3 separate regions of the Homo sapiens genome follow, and all the other regions are linked to region 2. Evidence: promoter capture Hi-C in 16 types of primary human blood cells and fetal thymus (Javierre and others, 2016). All regions are on one chromosome and are shown on one strand. The core of a region is centred on a gene start or on the middle of the fragment in contact, and the rest is flanking DNA. Distances in the headings are between cores, read along the strand shown.

What was found. The method cuts DNA at HindIII sites, captures the fragments that hold promoters and counts their contacts. A CHiCAGO score of 5 or more calls a contact.
Region 1: a fragment that was not itself captured here is called in contact with the fragment with the promoter of ASPH in region 2 in 3 of 17 cell types (total B cells, activated CD4 T cells and non-activated CD4 T cells); the score reaches 8.5 in total B cells.
Region 3: a fragment that was not itself captured here is called in contact with the fragment with the promoter of ASPH in region 2 in 1 of 17 cell types (activated CD4 T cells); the score reaches 5.2 in activated CD4 T cells.

Annotation. Positions count from the first base shown.
Region 1 is chr8:58,403,499-58,406,659 of GRCh38, forward strand. No RefSeq gene overlaps it. Among named protein-coding and RNA genes, the nearest start is that of UBXN2B, 6.3 kb to the right of the region's middle. The HindIII fragment of the contact is 3,704 bases long and covers 1-3,161 here.
Region 2 is chr8:61,713,150-61,716,292 of GRCh38, forward strand. It overlaps ASPH (aspartate beta-hydroxylase), which reads right to left and starts at 1,443. Exons shown (of 25, transcript NM_004318.4): 1 at 1,120-1,443. The coding sequence starts at 1,222. It overlaps MIR4470 (microRNA 4470), which reads left to right and starts at 1,639; the gene lies at 1,639-1,710. RefSeq lists silencers at 813-1,242, 1,283-1,652. The HindIII fragment of the contact is 6,840 bases long and covers 1-3,143 here.
Region 3 is chr8:58,649,399-58,652,454 of GRCh38, forward strand. The region is part of intron 1 of NSMAF (neutral sphingomyelinase activation associated factor); the gene reads right to left. Among named protein-coding and RNA genes, the nearest start is that of NSMAF, 8.9 kb to the right of the region's middle. RefSeq lists an enhancer at 1,808-2,532. The HindIII fragment of the contact is 931 bases long and covers 1,081-2,011 here.

The DNA.
Region 1 (3,161 bases), core at 315-2,814, 3.3 Mb before region 2:
TAAAGGCAAAAGAGGAATTTAAAATGACCCTGATTTCTAGCTGAAGCTAGATGCTGATCTAATAAATGATAGAATGAAAAAGAAGTGGGTTTGTACGACAAAAACAGAGGATTAGTTGGAGACACAAATGTTTTTGAGACATCCAAATGAAAATATCAGTTGAAAAGACAATTGGAAATGTAGATGTGGGGTAAGAGAGGGACCTGGGTATTGGAAAAAGAGATTTGGGAGTCTTAGATACAGTCCATTCTAGTTATTCGCAGATTCCATATTTGCATATTCACCTACTCACAAAATGTATTTGTGACCCCCAAACCAAATACATGCAGTGCTTTGTGATCAAACCCAGACACAAAGGAGCAAAATATTTCTGTTGCCCCATGAGCACATTCCCAGCTGAGCTCAAACAAGGTGACATTCTGCCTTTTTATTTCAGCTTTTATACTTTAAATAAGTGTCCTTGCACATTCTATTTAGTGCCATGTTTTTCACATGTTTGTGCTTTTTGTTGGTGATTTTGCTGTTTGAGATGGCCCCCAAGGGTAGTGCTGAAGTACTGTCTGGTGTTCCTAAGTACAAGAGGCTGTGATGTCCTTATGGAGAAAATGCATGTGCTAGATAAACTTCCTTCATGCAGGAGTTATAGTGCTGGTGGCTGTGAGTTCAATGTGAGTGGATCAATGATCATATTAAACATGGGGTCTTCAACAGAAATAGACATAAAACAAGGTTATGCATTGATCAGTTGATGAAAATGTAAGAAGTTCACAGGAACCTACCCTGTATTTTCCCTAGCAGCAATGATTCAGTATTCAATAACTCAGTGTTCTCAATGGCTTTAAGGAACATAACTACTGTAAATAATGAGAATTGACTGTGTGTAAATAGTAGGTATGAGAACAGAAGATATTGAACAGCGAAAGCATATACACAGTGAGCAAATAAGAGTGGCAAAGGCAGAGCCCTAAAGAACATCATTATTTAGAGGGTGGATAGAAGATAAAATGTTAGGAGAAGCTCAAAAGGAATGGTCAGGTAGGTAAGAAGACCAATGTTAAGCAGTATCATGAGGAAATTTCAGGAAAGGTAAAATCACAAGAGTCAGAGGCTGCAAAAAGCTCCCAGGAGACACGGAGATGGTATTTTTTAACCAAAAACACAAACAAAAAAAAAAACATATGCTTTTGAGTGTAATGGACCTGAATTTAAAATTTAGTTCTGCTACTTAATAGCTGAGTGACATAAGGAAATTCATCTTATTTCTCTGATCCTCAACTACTTCTGTAAGATGGAGACAATACCTATCCCAGAAAGTTGTTGTAGATTACATGAAATAATGTGCAATCCATGAAAATTACCAACTGTAAATATTCTATTTCTATTTTTAGAATGAGATAAAAATGTTTTAAAGGATGGAACAAGGCCATTATATATTACAGTGACCTCTGATCTTGTTCTCAGTGATGTCCAGCATATGTAAAATTACACAAACGTGAGTTTCATTTAGGTTGTGAAGTTGGAGCTGGATTTGGTTTAGAAGTGCAATATAAATAGGCCTGCATTTTATACTGTCTGTCCTGTCTGTATCTAATGAAGATATCTGTTGATAGATCTTCTTATTTCTTGACTTTCCATGAATGGAAAATGGGCTTTGGAGATAGTCAAATGTGGTTTGAGTTATGGATCTGATATGGTTTGGATCTGTGCCCCCACCCAAATCTCAGGTTGAAATGTAATCTCCTGTGCTAGAGGTGGGCCCTGGTGGGAGGTGATTGGATAACAGGGGCTGCTTCTAATGGTTTAGCACTATCCCCCCAGTGCTGTTCTTGTGATAGAGTTCTCACAAGATCTGTTTGTTTAAAAGTGTGTGGCACCTCCCCACACTTCCTCCTGCTCCAGACATGTAAGATGTACCTGCTTCTCTTCCCCTTTGCCTTCTGCCATGATTATAACTTTCCTGAGGCCTCTAGAAGCCAAGCAGAAGCTGTTCTGCTACCTCTATAGCCTGCAGAACAATGAGCCATTTAGCCCCTTTTCTTTATAAATTATCCAGTCTCGGATATTTCTTTATAGCAGCACAAGAACAGACCAATACAGGATCCCTACCACCTTCATTCACTCACTCATGCAAATAGTTATTAAAAGTACATATTATGGTTCCAGGTTCTGTGTTAAGGCACTAGAGATGAAGTCCTGGCCCACATACTCCATGAGCTTAGTCTAATGGAAGGAGAAAATAAGTATAATAAAATGTTTAACATTAAGTTTCCAGTTTAAGGACCCCATAATATATATGATAGGTCAAAATGGGTGTGAGAAAGATGCTCCTGGAGAATGTTTCAAAGACGATGAATGTCATGATTCTTGAACCTCCTCACCCACTTTGAGAACAGAAAATAGAGAATCAAGGAGAGTGAGGTATGTGGTCGTAGTTCTTTGAAGAAGAATGGGGAAAGATATCACTTTCATCACAAGCCAAAAGAAAGGAGACTTCAAGGCGACCACTTGAATGTTTGTTGATATTTTTGTTCACATTAACAAGATACACATAAGATGCAAGTGAAACACAAACACCCATAGTAACTCAACAACGTGAGCAACTTCTTCCGGAATCAGCTAGTAATTTTCAAATACTAGAGGAAAATTTACATTTTTTTTCTTTTGCTATTCACAGCATAACAGCTGCAGGCACAGCATACTTTTAAGTCTTATCTGCCTCGTAAACATTTTCTCCAACAGATCCTTAAATCTCCAGTGGGCAATCAACAAAACAAGAAATCGAACTTTTATTTATGGCGTTTACCAATTTCTGAGGTGGGAATACTTACACCATGGTAGATTTCAAGCTACTAACATGTTGTCACTGAATGCGAATTGGGAAGAGGTGTGCAATAGCATCTCCACCATATAGATCCAATAGATGTAAATCCCCTCAGGAGCATAGATAATAGCAAAATGTATTCAAATAACTAGGAAATTAGAGATTTGAATATTTATTGCATGAGTTTTTTGTATAATTTAGTTGTACATTTATATCATTTAATTTTTAATAATCCCTGTTTAACAACTGCCTTGCAAAATTCCTAAAAATTTAACAGTAGGCTCTCATAAGCCAGTGCACGGCAACTTCTGCACACCATTGACATTAAGTTCATTGAATA
Region 2 (3,143 bases), core at 193-2,692:
TATTAGTCCTTAGAATGTAAATTTGTGCAATGGATTTAATGCACTACTTTCCCCATTTAAATCCATTCATTCATTCACTACTCAAATATTTATTGAGCACCTATTATGGGAAAGGAACATTCTAGGAGCTGGGGATACAGAGAGAATGAGCCAAAGACAACACACATGAAAGTAATAAGACAAGTTCAGATAGTGACAAGTGCTATAAAGAAAATACTTCTTTGACTATAGCTGATTCATTTTCTTGGTATATTATGAATGCATGATCTGAAGATCTCAGAAAACAAAGAGTCTAAATCACTTCAAGTGAAGTTTACAGCTCACATTCCATACACATGTGTATTGCAGTTTCAATATCCCAAATATGAGTCAAAGGAAGTATAAAAGAAACCAAGAATCACTGAAATATGAGACGAAACAGATTTAAAAATCTGTTCTCTCTGCTGGATATGCACACGGACGAGGAGAAAGGTGAATATCCAATCGATTTTTATTTTAAGTAAAAGTGGTAAAAATACAGACGCTCGTTCAGTATTTCATGACATTCTATTTTAAAGGCAACTGCAACGCATATTAAGAAAGCTACATACAAGCAAAAATATTTAAAATAATTTCTGAGAGCATTCAAATCACTCCCAACTTCTTCCCTCCCCCTGCCCCCCGGCGCCCCCATTTTCACCTCCTTTGAGTTGCTCTGAAACGCTGCTGGTTAGGCAGGAACTCACTTTCCCTGACTTTGGCTCATTTTCAACTCCCCAAAACACGCAAGGCAAACGATAAATTGTTCTCTTACTCCCATGTTCAATTCCACGGAAAGCCAAGAAACAGTCGTTCAGCAACCTCTGTCTCGGCTGCGCCCTGCAGGTGAAGGAACCGCTGGGAAGGGGCTCCCCGAGACTAGCATCCCGAGGGCTCGGACCCCGGTCCGCCTGGCCCCTCGCCCGCCCGCCAGGCCCGCCGAATGCGGCCTCCGCCCCGCGCGCCTAAAGGAGGAGCGTCGCGGGGGATGGAGGCGGCGCGCGGTGGGACCTGGGGAGATGCACCCGCAGCGTCCGCCGCGCCAGCCGGCTCCCTACCCCGAGGCGAGGCCCCAGATCCCCGCCCCGCAGGGCCTCTGACCTCTCCGGGCCCCGGGGCTGCTGCTGCCCGCACTCGTGCTACCGCTGCCGGAGCCGCTGCTGCTGCTGTTGCCGCTGCTCTTGGCATTCTTACGCTGGGCCATTGCACGGTCCGCGGGGGCTGGTGAGGGCTGGCGGACCTCCTTCAGTGCGCGGGGGTACACACGCGACGCGGGAACCGCTGGCGGCGGCGGGCCGCTGGAGCGGGTTCGGGCCGCTGCTCCTGCAGCAGACCCTGTGCCTCAGCACCGCCTGCAGCACCTGGGAAGACTTCACCCGCCTGCCGGCTGCGCGCGCCCGGCCTCGCGTGTACGAACCTGTGACTCCCTCCCGGGGCGAGAGCGCGCGGCTCGCCGCCCGACGGCCACGCCCCTTCCCGGCCTCGCCCCGCCCCCGGAAGGCTGAGTGACGGCGCCTGGGACCCAATCGCAAGGGCCCTTACGAGGCGGCGGTACCCTGCCGCGCTCCCCGCCCCTGCTCACTTAGGGCTGTTCGGGCGCTACGCAGCTGCCTGTGAGCGCGAGCCTCTTTCGGCTTTCCAGTTTGTCTCGGTCCTTTGGAACGTGGCAAACGTGGAAGCCGAGAGGGCTCTCGCGAGCGTTGGCAGACCCCGCTCCATAGGGATGGGACAGGGCGCGGTGCGGAATAGGTGGACACGTGGGCCGCCCGTGGGCGGAGTGCGCCGCTTCTAGGCCTTTCACTGTGGATTTTGTCCCCTTTCCGTATACAAGGAAAGGAAGGAGTGCAGTCTCGCTTCTTGCGAAAGAGATCCCTATTTCTTGTCCTGATTAATACTAAGACATTTCTGGAATGGTGATATTAGGACTAGTTCAATGCTTAAACCGTAGTAGTTCATCCATTTGGTGCTGAAGCAGGAATTTAGTTCGTTTGTGCCATCAGTATTTTCAGATACTCTTAGTTAAGGAATGAAAATGCAAATGTGACACAAAAAGTTCATTTTCTTACCCTGGATGGCACCCTCTGTCTGAAATCCCTGGCTGCTTTGCTAACGCCTGGGCCTGTGCTGCCTGAGAATTCCCAACAGAGTATTAAAATGTCTTGGCACGTGGTTGAACCAGACAAGGACTTGAGATCAGCGACGTCTTTATCATCTTTGTGTCACCATTGCTAACACCATGCCCAATGTGTAACAGGCAAGCAAGAAATGCTTAGTGATTTGATACATTTCTGTCAATTGCTGAACCCACAGCTCTTGATCATGTTTCGTAGCAACCCCTGGGAGTGTCTCAGGAGGGCTCAGGGACCAGAGAGAGCAGTTGCATTGTGGCATCTGGTTTCATTCCTCTTTTCCAGCCCCACAAACCCACCCACCCGCGCCTTCAGAAGCACTCCCGCCTCCCCCCGGCCCCATGCCTTTTCACCTGTGGATGGTTGGATGCTGCTTGACCCTGCCCTGATGATGCACAGAAACCCCCCAAAGGTCATGTTGCAGAATAAAGAGAATGCCTTTCTTTACCTTTTGTCAAATAGTGTTAGGCTATTATCAAGAGACGGTGGGAGGGGAGAGTTCACAGAGTTTTTATTGAAGTAGCTCTCTCAGCTTTTATCTTGTGGCATCTCCTTCTGCATCCATATATCCTTTCTCCCATTCAGGGCCCCCTTACAACCCTCTATTATATTATCTCAATGAAGGAGGTGGAGAACTGGATTAAGAAATAAATCTGAGTGATGGTGCTTCATATAAAATAAAAATGAGAGCTAAATTTCAAAACACAATGCTCTAGCCACCCCCCACCCCCCACACCAAAGATATTTTTACCCTTAAATTCTCACAAAACCCTGTAGTCATATCAATTTTTTAAAGAAATTAGATACTGGAAGCTCAGAGAGATAAAACAAAGTAGGGTCACTGTATTAGTCCGTTTTCACACTGCAGATAAAGACATATCCCAGACTGGAAAGAAAAAGGGGTTTAATTGGAGTTACAGTTCCACATGGCTGGGGAGGCCTCAGAATCATGGCAGGAGGTGAAAGGCACTTCTTACATGGAGGTGGCAAGAGAAA
Region 3 (3,056 bases), core at 296-2,795, 3.1 Mb before region 2:
TTGATGTTGAAATAAGTTAACACTTTGGGGGACTATTGGGAAGAAATGATTGTATTTTCCAATGTAAGAAGAACATGAGATTTAGGGGGCCAGGGGCAGAATGATATAGTTCGGATGTTTGTCCCCTCCGAATCTCATGTTAATATGGAATTACCAATGTTGAAAGTAGGGTCCAGTGGGAGGTGACCTGATCATGGGGGCAGATCCCTCATGAATGCCTCAGCACCATCCCCTTGGTAATAAGTGAGTTCATGCTCAGTTAGTTCACATGAGATCCGGTTGTGGTTGTTTAAAAGAGTCCAGAGCCTCCTCCTCCTCTCTCTTGCTCCCTCTCTTGCCATGTGATGTACCTGCTCCCACTTCACCTTCCACCATGAGTAAAAGCTCCCTGAGGCTTCACCAGAAGCCAAGCACATGCCAGTGCCATCCTTCTTTCCTGTACAGCCTGCAGAACTGTGAGCCCATTAAACCTCTCTTGAATTAGCAGCATGACGTTCATGCTGGGGACTGGTGACAACAACTTCCTCTTCTAGTGGTTTATAAATAATCTGTCTGATCTAGAATTTGCATTAAACCTATTTATGCACACATGTTCTTTCAGCACCTTTCAAAGTTCCTAGATCATTGAAATAATTCTGTGGTTCTACACTCAAACTCTCCCAGGATTTTACGCCAGGAGACATAAGCACTTGGGTACCATTTGCATCTTCACCCATCTTGCGAAAGTTCATCCTCTTTCAGTCTGAAGATTAGTATTATTAATAGAGTACAAAATAAGAGCTTTCCCTGTCATAAATCAATGTTACACCTGGTACCAGGCTAGGCCTAGGCAGCAGCCCAGTACTTCCTAGTTCCAAGGGCAACTTTGGAAGTTTTTTTGTTTTTATTTTTTTAATCTGTACCATTTTTCAAAGGTTCCACTCATTTGGGGCTTTAACCTTTTTGAAATTAACTATGTATAACCTTCTTGTTTTATATTAAAACTAATAATTATAAACTCAGAGAAATACTACCTGTACAACCATTCTTTATTTGCTAGCCTGATTTTCTTTTTCTTTTTTAGCTTCCTTCCAACATGCAAGCTTGCCTGATTTTCTGTAACTCCTCACAAAAGATCATTTGGATTAGATGTTCTTAATTGTATTTTTGACAGTTTCACAAACTTCCTGGGTCAATATGCTTTCCAAACTGTCCAGTAACAGCACCTATCTTTTTTGTTCCTTGGAACTTTCAATATCTGCTTTCTTAAAATTCTAGGTTCTATGTATGACAGGATCCCTCTCAACTCTCCTGAGCTCCAGCAATAAACAACTTGATATGACTGCTTTTTATGATGGTTCATTTCATTGCTACTTGGTTAATAATTTGTCTTTAATATTCAGAATTAAGTAAAGTTCTCAAGTTTAGGATAAATTAAAACTTTAAGAAAGGAAGTCAATAAACTGTACTTAGATTTCACTAAGCATTTCAGCCAGTATCTCTATTGCCACTTCCTGTTTTCCCATTTACACCAGGTACACAGCCACCATTTCTTCCACCCACTTAACGTGGCCTGTAACAAAAGAACACAATCATGTTATCTTTGTTCCTCTTTCCAATTGTGTTCTCTGGGATTTTTTCCTGGGGTTTCATGGATTCCCCTTCAGATGTATACCTTCTTAACATTCAGAGCCCACTGCCTCACCTCCTGGCAGGTCTTTCCTTTTCAATAGGTCTGCAGCTTTTCAACACTAGATTCCAATCTTGGGTCTCATCTTACCCAACTCCAGTGACACCTAAAACACACATTAATCCTTTTTTGTTAAAAGACCTGGCTCATTTTATTATCCATGTTCTACACATTTGCAGAGAGACATCTGAGGGACTAAGTATCATTTCTAGTTCCTGTACCAGTTGTTTTCTCCTATAAATTACTGGCCCTTCTTCCCTCCCAGAAAGAGTTCTCATGAATTTAAACAATTTCACTATTTCATCTGGCCTTTTTAGCCCTTCCCCTCAGTAATTAGGTTAAAGCTTTCTATCACTCAGCTGGACTCTAGAAAATTACATTCTCCCTGACTATGTGAGATGCAGTGACTTCCAGCCAAGATGGTTCAGATATCAAAATCCCTTTCACTGACACCATCCATAAAGCCAGTCAATTCTATTTTCAAGTCCCAGCAATTTATGAGAAGAAATGGTAAAAATGTCATCTATGCTCTCAAAGTCCTCCAGTTTCCTCATCAAGTGTCATACTGCAGGGCAGGAGGCTTCCCTCAGCCTTTTTATATGTACTATCAAGAAGTTAAAGAAGGAAGTTCAGTTGGAAGGAACAAACAAATAAAAAATCAAGATGAATGCTGAATTACTGTTATCTAGCGCAGCGCTTCACAAAGGTTAGTGTGCACACAATCAACTGGGGATCTTGTTAAAATGCACATTCCAAGGCAGCAGCTTCAGGGTGAGGCCTGAGAATGTGCATTTCTAACAAGCTCCAGGCACACATGCGCTGCTGGCCTGTGGACAACACTTTGACTAACAAGATTCTGATATCTACATAAAACAGGCTTCATTCATTCCTGAATCAGTCTAAACTTCAAGGATACCATAAAAATAAGCACTGGCCAGTAGCCCACAACCTAGTATTTAAAATAGAAGCAGTATGGTACAGTGGAAAAGAGGTTGGACTTGGATCAGAGAACATTTGTTCTAGCCTTAGTTCAGCTTGGCTCCAAATTTTCCAAAACTTTTAGCTTTAGGAAGCTCAAGCAGGATAGATGAAGAAAAAAAAATCTATATCTAGACAGCAAAAAACTACAGAGAGGAGATCTTAAAAGCAGTCAGAGAAAAGAGAGATTACCTACAAAGAACAATTAGACTTAACAATATTGGTTTGTTGCAGGCTGGTCTCCCAGAAGAGAAGGTGGCCTCCTGCAAAGTTTCAGGGAAAACTGCTATGATTGTGTTTAAGGCAATCAAACCTCATCAACCACAAGGCTTGAACCCTGGTCCCCTGACCATGCCAGGAAAAAGGCTGGTGTTTCCCCAATCAAGAACAAACTCTGCCACATTATACA